2 separate regions of the Homo sapiens genome follow, and region 1 is linked to region 2. Evidence: promoter capture Hi-C in 16 types of primary human blood cells and fetal thymus (Javierre and others, 2016). All regions are on one chromosome and are shown on one strand. Each heading gives the region's core, a stretch centred on a gene start or on the middle of the fragment in contact. The rest is flanking DNA. Distances are from core to core; before and after follow the strand shown. Region 1 holds the start of HDX (highly divergent homeobox). Region 2 holds the start of BRWD3 (bromodomain and WD repeat domain containing 3).

Region 1 (6,512 bases), core at 3,360-5,859, 3.7 Mb before region 2:
TTCTGCTCCAAATCAGAAGTATTTAAAAGGACAACACTTAATTTCAGCTTTCTCATCATTTTTTGGTGGACAACTTTGAATGGAGCTGTCAATAAGCTGTAAAAGGCCTAAAAGGTGGGCAAAATAAAAGTAAAAATCTGCCAGGTGCAATGGCTCAGGCCTGTAATCACAATGAATATTTTAGAAGGGCAAGGTGTAAGGATCACTTGAGTCCATGAGTTTGAGGCTGTAGTGAGCTATGATCGCACCACTGCACTCCAGCCTGAGTGACAGAGCAACACCCTGTCTCTAAAAATTAAAAAAAAAGAGAGAAAAGAAAAATAGAAGTGAATAAAAAAGCCTCAATAACCTACAAACAAAGCATAGAGACTCTGATTAATGAAAATCAGCTCTACTAGAAAAATTAATGTAACTTTAAGTAGATTGAAAGTTAGTTTTTTAAACCTAGCAATCCAATGGTTAGAGCTGTGTTCTGGGCTCATTTAGGCAGGTCTCACATATATCAATAAATGATTGTGTTGGTTAAAATGAACTTAAGAATAAATTCCTTATTAATTGGAAAATTAAGAAAAAAATTAAGTTGGGAGAACTTTCTTTGGTGTATGCAGTTTTATGTTCACCCAAAATGCACTGTGAACATGTTTTTTTCCCCCAATGAAGAATGGGAGAGCAGTAAATTGGTTATCTTTTATTAGTGGTACCCCAACCTAGATTCAGCTCCACCAGACTAAACCAAATCTTAAAATACCAAACTCACTTTTTTCTTTAAGGCATTTTCCTGACTAACTTCCTTCTGACATAATCCAAAAATCGGTAAATTTTGTGTTGAAATCAACTTTAGCAGTCACTCAATATAGATAATCCTTCAACGTTGCTGACTGATGGTCACTGAAACATTCCCAGTGATTGAGGCCTTTTGACTTTACAAAACAGTCTCTATCATTTTTGAACACTTGAATTTTAAGCTGAGACTTTTTTTTCCCATCAGTTATCCATTTTGGCCTTGGTAGTGCCCTCTGGAAAACCACAACATAAGTCACATTTGTCTTTGCTCAGCAGTCTTTCAAATATTTGAAGGTAGTTATATATTCTTGAGATCTTCTCCTCTTTAAGCTAAGCATCCTCAGCTCCTGGAGACTTGCCTCAAATCATGTATTTTTTAGATGCCTCATCATCCTGGTTTTTCTTCTCTAAATGCAGCTATTTGTGAATGTTTATTTTAAAATAAGGATAATCAACAGAAGAGACCAAGTGTGGTCTGACTAGGGTAGAGACTAGTAGAACCCTTAACTCTCTTGATTCAGATAATAACTTTTTATTAATGTAGTTTAAGTATGAATTATCTTGTTTAACAGCTTTGTTATACCAGTTCATATTGAATTTACAGAATTTTTAGATGAACTTCCCAACTTAGGTGTTTATTGCCCTTCCTGTACTTATGCAACTGATTTTTGTAAACCTAGAATCAAGACTTACTGTTTATCCATGTCAAACTTCATTTTATTGCATTTGTTTGTTGAGTCTTTTGAGATCTTTGAAATCTTGGTTAATATCCATGGTTTAATTATTCTACTTAGATACTTTTTACTTACAAGTTCAATAAACATGCTTTTAATTGATATATTGTGAACAGGACAGGTACCGGTATCTTAGGCATGTATTGAAAACATCTCTCATCCCTGAATACCTATTACTGCACTACACAATCTATGCTCTCCCCTATCTATTCATTCAACAAAGACCCATTGAGTGCCTACTTAATGCTAGGTACCACTACAACTCTAGGTACTGGAGATATAACAGTAATAAGAGAGGCAACTTCCTACCCCCTTGAACTTTTCATTCTGTTGGGGAAAGGCAAAATAACTAACCAACAAAACTAATAATGTATTTTTCCATAGTGATATGAGAAAAATTAAGCACAGCAAGAAGATACAGGAGACAGATAATTGTGGTGGTGGTGGGGCAATGCTATTTTAAATTGATTGGTCCATGAAGTCCCATCTGAGAAGGTAACATTTTAGCAGACAGCCTGAATTATGTGAAGTATGCTATGTGAAGATCTGGGGAAAGAGTTTCCCAAGAAATAATAGCAAATGCAAAGTCTCTGAAGAGGAAATAGGCATTCCAGAGAGAAAACAGATAACCAAAAAGACCAGAGTAGCTACAGCATAATGAGCCAGGGCAGGAACAAATGGTGGGAAATACACCATAGAAAGGACTTGGGACTTTATTGTTAATGTAATGAGATGCATTTGGAGGGCTTTAAATCAGGTAGTGATATGGTCTGATTCAAACTTTATAAAGAATATTTTGACTGATGTTAAGAGAAACTTTTGAAGAAGGACAAGAGTGGAAGAAAATAAACGATGTAAGATGCTTTTGCAGTATTTCAAACTAGAAGTTACAGTGACTTTAGTGTAACGGTGATAGAGGAGGTACAGAGTATTCAGATTTGGGGCCTAATTTGAAGGTACAGTCTTCAAACATACTAGTGGCTTAGCTACAGAGTGAGAGGGGAAAAGAGGAAGGAAAAATTGGATTAATTTAATTGCCTCTATTTGTACTGTGATTTCATACAAGTCTTCTTGTGTCTTTGCATTATAAACCCTTCAAGGGTAGGGACTCTGATCCTTTTTCTCATATCACTTCAGTTTCAGGTAATTCATAAACGTAATTTATGAATACGTTAATCAATTATCAATAGGCTTTTTCTGAATCCTCCACTTTACCCATATAATTCCTTCTTTGAAAGTCTCATATTTCATCATTTTTAACACCCTAATCTAGGGGTGTGTCACCTAGAAGCTGGGTTAGCATTACAACTGTCTAACTGGTCTCTCTCACTCCAGCCTATCGCAATGTTACTGAAAATGCAAATTAATGACTTGAAAAATGTGCTTTCAGTCATTCATTCAATACGTACTTACTTATTTGTCTACTTTGTATTTAGAGGCTTTCTAGATTTGAGGGATATAATAATAAACAAAACAGACAAAAATCCCTGCCTTCATAGAGCTTACATTTGCAATAACTAAATATATAAAATACATTTAATAATAATAAATACTATGAAGAAAAATGAAACAGAAAAAAGGGTATAGAGAGTGTTAAGGATATCACAATTTTAAATAGGAAAACCTCTTTAAAGAGGTTGCATTTGAGCAAAGATTTCAATCAAGTGATGGAGTAAGTCATATAAAGATCAGACAGTACAACAGTACAGGGTCACTGCTGTGGACATGAGCTTGACTTGTTTGAGAAATAGAAGATTAATATATTTGTGAATTAGTGGCTGAGTGACAGGAGGTGAGGTCAGAAAGATGGCGGAGGCCAGATCATTTAGGGCTTTGAGGACATGGTAAGAAATCTGCATTTTATTGTATATGTGAAAGGAAACCATTGAACAATCTGAAGTTGAGCATAATCTGGCTTTTGTTTTAAAAAATCACCTAAACTCCTCTGTAGATAATTGACTATAGAGGATTGAGGTCACATGCTTTATGGCTTTTGGTGGCTTTTAATCAAATAAAAGTTATCTGCCTATTTTCAAAGGCTTTTATTATTAGCCAATTCCATCTACCACTAGTCCTCAGCATATGCCCTCTATTTGTCAAGCTGATTTCATCATGGGCTTCCTCACATCATATGAATTTATACGTCTCTACCTTTGCCTATCTTTCCCCTTTAAGACGGTGACTTCCATCTGCTCTTATCCACCATTCAAGAACCATCTCAAGTTTTAATTACATAAAATGCTTCCCTGACTTTTCACCTCACTGATGTCTCCAATAATTAAATAATGTAGCTCTTGTCTGTAGTTAATGACTGAGCACATGATCATGTACTTTATTTTATTGTTGTGAATATTTACTGTGTGCTAATCTTGTCTTCCAAACGATGTTGCAAGTTCTATGATAGCAGAGAATCAATGAATTCTATATCTCTCATGGCATCCAGCAAATCTGGGAAGTATATCAAGTGACTGTTAAATGATGTAACATGTGGCTTGACTTCTTTTCTGGAATGGTATAATGGTGATCACCCAAGAAGCTTCTGCCAGAATAGGAATTGAGGTTGGATGAATAAAAACCATAGTTTCTTTCCTCAGTCATCAGAGCCAACCAGTCACGTATAATAGTACACTTGCTTTTACTGTAAAATTCTAAAGGCTCGATGGACACCTTATTGATTTTAGTAAAACTGAATATTTACCTGTCAATCGAACACTGACCACAAAGGACTGTATTTCCTTATGCTATCATTTGATTTTGGCAGCATGTAACAATTTTGTTAAAACCCAATGTCAAGTTGGAAGGCCAGGCAGCACCTGCTCAAATGGCTGGCATGTAACTACTATAGTCACAGGGATGCTCGGTGTTCACAGCTATTCAGGAAGGTATAGAGAGCCCTGGCCGTAGATGTAGCTGATTTGTGTGAGGAAGAGGCAGTCCAGTTGCAGGCAGCCATCTCTCTTCCCCCCTCCCAACTCTTGGGTTCTGGGCTGAGGCCAGGGACTGTCCTGAGCTGATCGCAGGCTCCCATTGGCCGCTGTCTTTTGTGACGTCACGATCATGATGAGAATTGATGATCGGACACGCTGATTTCATTGTCTGAAGCGGCACTGGAGACCCAGGAAAAATCTCGCTGAATCCGCCTGCCCCAGCAGCGGCCTGATCTGGGTTCCGCTGATTCCTTTCGTAACCGCACCACACCCGAGGTAAGCACTCAACACTAAGTGGGTGAGAAGGGCGAAGGAGGGAGGGCAAAGCACCGGGATAATGCTTTTCCTAGTTTGGGGCGAGGTTGGGGGTGGGGGGGTCCATAGGTTCCGTGGCCTAAACAGGCAGACAAAAAACTGGTGCGGATCCTAGGGAGCCAAGTGCCTCTATCCTCCTAGCGAAGGCTGGCGGCTGAGTGAGATTAGAAACGAGCTGCGGATAGGGATACAATGGGGATTGCCAGAGAGCGAAGGACCTTGCTCGGAGAGAGAGCGATGTTTGGGACGCGCTTCTGGACGGGTAGTAGGAGGAAGTGGCGCCTCTGCCTCCGAAGAAAGGAGGGGATTGAATTCTACCACTTCTAGATTTCACTGGACAGTAGATTTCTCACAGCCCTACTCAAAGGCACTGAGAGCGTAGCGCCTGCGCATTAGCACCTTGGTGGGGGCGGGGTGGGTCACTGTGAGGAGAATAGGCGTGGAGTTTGCACAGGCGCTGTTTCGGTTTCACTGGAAGAGGTGGGGCTGAGCCATTTCTGTGCTGAATTTGGAAAGTAGAGACCCAGGGAACATCCCAGGCCTTGTGATGTTTCAAGCACCAGTTGATGGGGAGAGATCTGCCATTTAGTTTAAACTGGCCTACTGAGTAAATCCAGCTTCAAAATGAGCCTTATAAATTTGAGAAGGCACATTCTAAATTTCCAGATATTAGATGTTGAATAACGGAATGAACTCTAGAAGAATTTGTGAAATAGAAGTTTATCAGATAAGAAACTGTTTGGAAAAATAAACACTAATTATTCAAATGAATCTAACTTTTAATCTTAAAGGAGCTCTGATTTGAGGTGACAATGATTTTGAACCTTAAATTCTTTGGAAAGACTCAGAATGAAGTCCATTGTGGAGGCTCAGAGTAAGAAATTTTCCTTTCTTGCCTTTTTCTCTTCTTGGGACAATCTCTTATAAATATTTAGTCTCCATATCAAGTTTGGTGCTGAGTCCATCTTCTTCCTCTGTGTCTCTGCTAGAATCACTGAAGTCAAATATTATTTTGAGAAGCCCTTTCCCGCACCCCTTCATTGGGAAGGCTGTTATATTACTTATATTAAGGCTTTTATTACTCAGCAGTTGTGGGGAACAATGAAGAACAACCTGCCTGTCTATTATTGATGAATAGATTGTACAGTATTGTTATTAATTGCCCTCCACAGTCTGATCATAGACTCCTGACAATTTTACAGAGGAATCTGGATTTTTCTCTATTTCTCATAGTTAAGGGATTATCAAGTACTGGTAAATTTTCCTTTGAAAGCCTTCTCACACGTTCCTCCTTTACAATCTAAATTCTCATCAGCACCCATGTAGTCACTGTAGGAGCTTCCTAGGCAGTCTTCACCTGTGCCCCAAATCCTTAGTGGTCTGTGAACACTTCTTTCAACAAATCACTTTCTTTAACCAACATATTCTTGGCCCCTTATTTTCTATTGTTTCAAGCCTAATTCCACCCGAATTTTAAAGAACTTCATAATCTGGCCTCATTGTAATGCAGGAGCCTTATTTTCCTTTATTCTTCAGGGCACAACTCTCTTTAATGTTCAGTTAGTGAGAACAATCTACCTTTATATCTTTGCTCCTTATACCATTACTGTCCCCTCCACGTAGGATGTCCTCCTTCTACATAATTCACATCTTACCCACTTTGGAAACTCAACTCAAATTCCACCCCTCCACAAGTGCCTTCCAAATTAATCTAATGCAAGTGTTACTGACCTCACTTTTCCTAGAATTCCCA
Region 2 (6,727 bases), core at 2,659-5,158:
TTTTGCTTCAGTTTATAAACATTTTCCTCCCTGTCCATTTAAGACTTTGGCCACAGGGTTAAGAGTGGTGATTCTAATTGTTCCAAAATACTTCAGAACATTAGTCCCCATTTATTAGTATTGATCTTGAACAACAAATAAACACATTTCATGGGAACACATACATTTCAATAACTTTCCTATTCCCTATCTAGGCATTACAATCAAGAAAGTAGCAGGGAAGTTGTGCCAGTTCATCAATTTGTTGCTTATCATCTCCAAATTCACCATTATTGACTGCTCTGTGAAAATGGATCTGATCCATTTAAGTATTTTTCCTTTTGTCAGCTGGCAATGAAGCTTTTCCAGTAGAGGAAACTGGAAAGATGTTGCAGAGAGAAAAGGTTTTGCTCCCTCCTTCTGGCCGGCTTACTGGGTAGGGTGTTCCTGCAGCTTGTGCAGCTCTCTCCAGTGGCTGGCTTCTGTGTTGCAGTTTCAATAGCACCAGGCCACTTCCCCTGGCACCCTCCCTCTTGTGGTTTTTGTAGTAGAGTTCCTCTGCTGAAACATTTCCCTATGAACATCCTTCTCAGGCACTCTAGCAGGCCAATTCCAGAGGGTGGGTTTCCAGCAAGTTCTAGAATGCAGGGTTCCAGTAATTTCCAGAGGTTGGAGTTTCAGCAAGTTCTGCCTGTAAGGCAATACAGAATATTTCCTGCCATAGAGTGACTCTCCACTGGCTGTGTTCTCTCTAAGAAGGTCTGGATCTCAGCTAAGGGAAGAGAATGCTTTATCTCAGTTCCAGGGGTAGTGGCTATCATATCTACTATTATATACCTGCTACATCTGTAGTATTTAGAGTTCTCTTTACTTCTTGCTAGCTAAGCCCTCATTATTCCAATTTCCTGTTATCATTAATAATTGAACTGACTGATACAGAGGTGATCATGGAATAACTGCCACATAAATTTTGAAAGAGTACACAAATACATTTTCACACGAATTTTATAACAATTCCTTGAAGTAGACATGGCAAATACTATTTATTATTCACATTTTACAGGTGAGGAATGAGGTTCACAGGCTGTGAGTGGACCAAATTCATAGTCATTTTTATCATTTGTAAAATGAGAATAACAATTGAACCTATCTCCTAGGGTCATTGTAAAGATTAAATGAGGTAAGCACGTAAAAGTGCTGAGGACATGATAATGGCTTGTTAAGTGTTAACTGTTACATACAGGTCAAACATCCCTAATCTAAAAATCCAAAATTCAAAATGCTCCAAAATCCAAAATTTTTGAGTGTCAACATGATGCCACAAATGGAAAATTCCACATCTGACCTCAAGTGGAGGATCACAGTCAAAAGGCAGTCAAGACTTTGTTTCGTGCACAAAGTTATTGAAAATATTATATAAAATTATCTTCAGTCTATGTGTATAAGGTATAAATGGAACAAATGAAATTCAAATTTAGACTTGGGTCCTATAGCTGAAATATCTCATTATGTATATGCAAATATTCCAAAATCTGAAAAAGTCCAAAATCCAAAACATTTCTGGTCCCAAGCACTTTGGATAAAGAATACTCAACCTGTACATTATACTTCAACTATAAAATTATTCAGTCTGGTATTTTGCTAAACTACTTGCAATGAGTTGTCTAGGTCTCATGTATCTTTTTATATCATTTTGTTGTATCAATTATTCATATTTGTTTTGTCAAGTTCCATGGCAATAACAACCAAAGATAAGCCTATCACTTCACAATTACCTCCTGTGGTTATTGCTTTCTGAGGAAAAAAAAAAATTACAAGTGAGAGCTAATCAACCTAGGCTAAGTTTATGTCAACTTAGAAATTCAAGGCCCACTGTGGTCAGTGGCAGAGCTGAGTGAGGAAACCCAATTCCCAAGAATATAGCCTTAAATTTAGATGAACCTTCAAATTGTAATATTTCAATGTAAATAATACATGCAACTTAAAATGCATTTCTGGTCTCATCAGGTTTAGGTGAGGGAGTGGGGTGGGGACAGGATGTTACGGGAAAGTAGGGAAGAAAAGGACCCGGTTTACTAATCTGTGTCAATTATCATACCAACCCCTTTCATCATTGAAGATTTCAGCAACCAAATACTGAAGGTCAGTGCGGTACCAAGGGTTGGGGTTATATATTAAACAGTGTAGTCCCGAACCTGTAGAAAACTATTGATACCTTGCATAGAGATAGGCAATAATACATAAAGATTATTGAAAACTCTTGGTTAAAGTACTTTAGTAGTATTTGAAAACACAATAGGAAATTACCCTGTAGGAATGGGATGTGTTAGATCCCAGCCGTAGATACGGCACGTGTTAAACTTTCAGAAGGGGAAACATGCTTCACGGCTGATTGCAAATTTCTCATGCAATATTTGTCAGAATCCAGGAGCATTTTAAGTGGTCTTCTAACAATATAAGCCCCGCACTTTGGACTGGTAAGTACAACATTTTCATTTGGTAAATAATAATAATTTTAAACAGAAACAAGTCACGACCAAATAGCGACTCATCCTCCCCCAGGCATAAAACCCTTTAGCCAGCTAGCCGCCTTTCCACGGGGTAGAGTATAAACAGCAAACAAAACCGCTTTGGTACCGGGAGGAAAAAGGGGAAAGGAGTCGAGTCAAAACACCGTCTCTTAAGTTCCTCAAGATCAACCCAGGGGGAAGGGTCCTCCACCGGAAAGGGCCGGATTGCCTTCACAGGAAGGGAAAGTCACTCCGGAGCTCGCAGACGCGAATGCCACCACAGAGTTCCAAGGCGGCTGCCAGAGCGTCGGCCGTCAGTTAGCACCTCCCCCTCCTTCCCAGAGCTGTAGCTAAGCAACCATCGGGCTCCGGGAGAGTCTAGGCTCAGCTGCTGTATTAGTGCCTCTAGCGGGGAACTATGAGCGCTGCAAAACCCTATCACCATTTTTACCCTCCCCTCTCTCCACCCCCTTTGCCCCCGCCCACCTCTTCGCCACTTCGGCTCCTCCCTCTTCTCGCTCCGTCTATCTCTCTCTCTCTCTCTCTCTCCGCCCCCCCACCCCCCGCGTCTCTCTCTCTCTCTCTCTCTCTCTCTCTCTCTCTCTCTCTCTCTTTTTCCTCTCTCTCTCTCTCTCTTCTCTCTCTCTCTCTCACTCACTCACTCTCTCTCTCCCTCTCCCTCTCCTCTCCTTCCTCCTCCGCCTCCTCAGCTCTTGGGCTAGAATATCTATGGGTCGAAACGTGATGCGATGAATTCGAGAGAGAGCGAAACTAGGACGAGGAGTGCGGCGGAAGCGGCGGGACTCCCGGGCATGGGGGCTTCACCACAATAGAGGCAGCGCCCCCACCCGCCCCCGCCAGCCCCTCCGGAGCGAAGCCCCCAAACCCCCTCGGGAAAAGGATGGCGGCAGCACCTACCCAGATCGAAGCCGGTGGGTAGCTGTGTCGGGGGGTGGGGGGGTGCTAAGGGAATGGGGGCTTAGCGCGAAGGCTGTCAGTTTCTTTTGAAAAAGCTTCTATTTCTCTTCTCTACCTCCCTCTGAACCTCTTTTCCCCCCTCTTCCCCAGAGCTGTATTACCTGATCGCTAGGTTCTTGCAGTCTGGACCCTGCAACAAATCCGCTCAGGTAAGGGGAAGAAAGAGATCTGGGAGTCGTGGTGAATGGTCCCAGTGGGGAAATCGAGGCAGCGGGACGAGCAGTTCCGTTGAGGGTGAGGGAAAGGCCGGCCTTGACTAGTCAAACGGTCAGCGGCTGGGCTTTAAGTGTGGAGGGAGGAATGGGTTGATGGCCCGAGCTGCTCCTCATATCTGTGTTTCCCTTTTGCTCAGGTGCTAGTGCAGGAGCTCGAGGAGCATCAGGTACGGAGCCCCTTCGGGAAGGGTGGGGAGGGTTGAGGTGAGACTGGAGGAAGGGGAGGGCAAGTCAGGGGCGGAAGACGGGCTGGGATAGAGGCTTCGATCTGGGTACCCGTAGCTGTTGTCACCGGGGTGAATTGGCTTCTTCCCTCAAAAGGGGCAGACAACGCTGGGGTCTTAACTCGTCCCCGCTTTATGCTTGTGGGAGGCAGTTTTTCAGGATTTCCTTCTCGACCCCCCTTCCCCCCCCCCCCCATATACTTGTCTAGCTCTGAGCCAATAGCTATCAGGCCGAGAGAAATAAAGACGGTAAAGTGTTGAGGACTGGGACACAGGTTGGGTCCAGTTGATGGGGAGCGGAGGCTTTTCCTTCATCATTTGCCTCCGCTTCCCCCTTTCTTTTCGTCCGGCCCCCAGCTGATTCCGCGCCGCTTAGATTGGGAGGGGAAAGAGCACCGAAGAAGCTTCGAGGATCTGGTGAGTAAAGTTTTCATTTCAACTTAACCTAACTCTTTCACCACTCCCTCCCCACCTTGTACCCCCAACCCGCCCCCCACCTCTCAGCCGACGAGGTTCTAGAGCTCGGTGCAGAGCCAAAGAACGACTGCCCCTTCCCCCATCCCTGCTAGTCGGAAAAAGGGTACCTTGCCCTCCCCTTGGCCCTGCTTGTTTCCACCCGAAAACTTTGAAGAATGTGAGTTGATTATCAGAGGTGCCGTGTTGTGGATTATGAATATGTTACAAACATTGGGGAAGGCCCATTGTAGGCGGAAAAGGGAGAGAAACCAAGGGGTTATCTTGGGGCACGTACTAAGGTCTGACGCTGGCCAATGACAGCGTTGGTAACAGCCCGGAGTTCCGGATTAGTGGAAGAAAACTGGTTTCTGGTTGGTCCTGGCCTGAAATACGGGAACTAAGGCCAGGCTTGGTCTTTTTTGGGGGGGGCGGGGGGGCAGGGGGGAGGCGTGGGAGGAAGGGGCTCTGGAGGGGAATTGACGGACCAGGGATTAGGAAAAACGACATAATTAAAAATAATAAGGAGCGTCAAGCCAATTTCAAATTTTGCCGGTTAGGTAATGGTCTACTGAGTAAAAGCATAATCGTTACGTATCTCCGATTTTATAAGCTCATTCAATTATCAGTTAAGTCGCATTTGCATAGACCCGTTTTCACTAAATAGAAACTGAGTTATCACTTTTTGAGAATTGGTGAAACACGATTTTGGGTTTACAAGGAGACAACAATGGACATATTTAAAAATGGAATATACTTTAGTGAAGGACCAAAGGCATTGGTCTATGTTGTTTCTCCTGCAAATATAATTCATAGTATAAATGTACCTTGTGTTCAGCATTGACACACAAAAACAGGTGATCCTTTTTATTTTGCGGGGGAGGTTCCCTTGTGTTAGCTGCTGCCACAGTGCATTGGAGGGTAGTGAAAGGAGAAAGGAATGATGTTACTAAAATCTAAATTCAGCTATCTTTCCTTCAAGTAAGATCCAAGTGGAGGAAAATCGGACAAAGTTAAAGAAAGTTGGCGGTGTATGATAGACTCTAAATATAAATGATTTAAAATTTGCTTGCAATAAGACTATATTTAAATTGCTTCAATGTTCATTTTGTTATTTTTGTTTGTGTTATCTTACAACAGTGAGGCCACATTATTATTATCAAGTCTACCGACTGTATAGTTTTCTTATATTTTGCAAATCACAGAAAATGGTATAATTGTGATAAGGGTAAACTCGACCATCTGTATTATTAATAGTAACAATTTCTCAGATGGAGAAAAATTAGTTTTGAAAAACTTCATGTACTGCCAGGTTAATTTGTAGTCAGTCTTTCTGTTGGACTTAAGTCTTTCCCTCCCCCTAAAAGAGGCAAAAACAACAGTGCCTACTAATATGTTTTAACACTTAATGACTGATACAGGTTTTTATATATAGTTTTAATACTGAGGTGTATTGAAAATGTTTTCCTTTACATTTGTCCTTCTCACAGCCTATATGTGTTATTTTAAGCAAGTGGCAAAGGAGATTAAAAGGAAAAAGCTTTTTTGAAACTAACTTGACAGTGATAAAAAGGAAATGAAAATCAAAGTAATTAAAAAATAGTCTCCTCACCAAAAAAACCCCAACAACCCAGTTTACTAGACTTTTCCTCATATTGTAAAGACATTTTTACATAATTGTGATCAGTGTCCATTTTATGCTTCATATTTTTCTTAACATTTAAAAATGTACTTGTGTATTTGAATAGTCATCATTATTTTAATGGTAAGAAAAAATTCAGTTGTATTTAAGGTACGATATGATTTGAACCAAGCTTCCAGTTGAGCATTTGAGCTACTTCCAGATTTTTACTAATAACTTTGCATAGTTAGGTGGTCTTTTTCTGCTTTTTACTTTCTCCCCTATCCCTTCTGCCCCCAGTTATTTTCCTGGACTTTATTCCCTAAAGTGGAGTTACCAGGTCAAAGGGTCTCATGAGTTTTATAGCTCTTGTCATATATTGTTTGCTCTCCAGAAGATTGTACTAATTTATAATGTCATCATCTAGGTATTTAGAGTGAGTTTTTTAATAGCTTTAAATCATTCAGTTTCTTTAATATTTAATAGATGGCAATAGCTCCTGGTTGACTTAAGTAGCTCTTTTTTTTTCATTACTAGTGAGGCTTAACCTTTAAGGAATTAAATAAAATTGTTAATTCTTACATATACTCAATTTTAACGTATCTTTTAAATATTCTTTTCTGTTTTTATATTTTCTATTTTTTTTACGTACACAGAGTTTGTTCTGTTGTTTGAACATTATAGTTTAGATACCATGGTTTTCTTTTACATGTCTGTTCTCTACCTATGGACTTCTTTGTAAGAGAA

The links. The method cuts DNA at HindIII sites, captures the fragments that hold promoters and counts their contacts. A CHiCAGO score of 5 or more calls a contact.
Region 1: a contact is called between the fragment with the promoter of HDX here and a fragment that was not itself captured in region 2, in 2 of 17 cell types (total B cells and total CD4 T cells). The highest score is 5.6, in total B cells.

Annotation. Positions count from the first base shown.
Region 1 is chrX:84,500,550-84,507,061 of GRCh38, reverse strand. It overlaps HDX (highly divergent homeobox), which reads left to right and starts at 4,609. Exons shown (of 11, transcript NM_001177479.2): 1 at 4,609-4,720. RefSeq lists a silencer at 4,436-4,585. The HindIII fragment of the contact is 2,765 bases long and covers 4,056-6,512 here.
Region 2 is chrX:80,806,135-80,812,861 of GRCh38, reverse strand. It overlaps BRWD3 (bromodomain and WD repeat domain containing 3), which reads left to right and starts at 2,985. Exons shown (of 41, transcript NM_153252.5): 1 at 2,985-3,421; 2 at 3,558-3,616; 3 at 3,820-3,849; 4 at 4,264-4,323. The coding sequence starts at 3,391. LOC124905202 (a long non-coding RNA gene) reads right to left here and starts at 4,054. Exons shown (of 2, transcript XR_007068278.1): 1 at 3,569-4,054; 2 at 92-751. RefSeq lists an enhancer at 2,671-2,750. The HindIII fragment of the contact is 808 bases long and covers 3,505-4,312 here.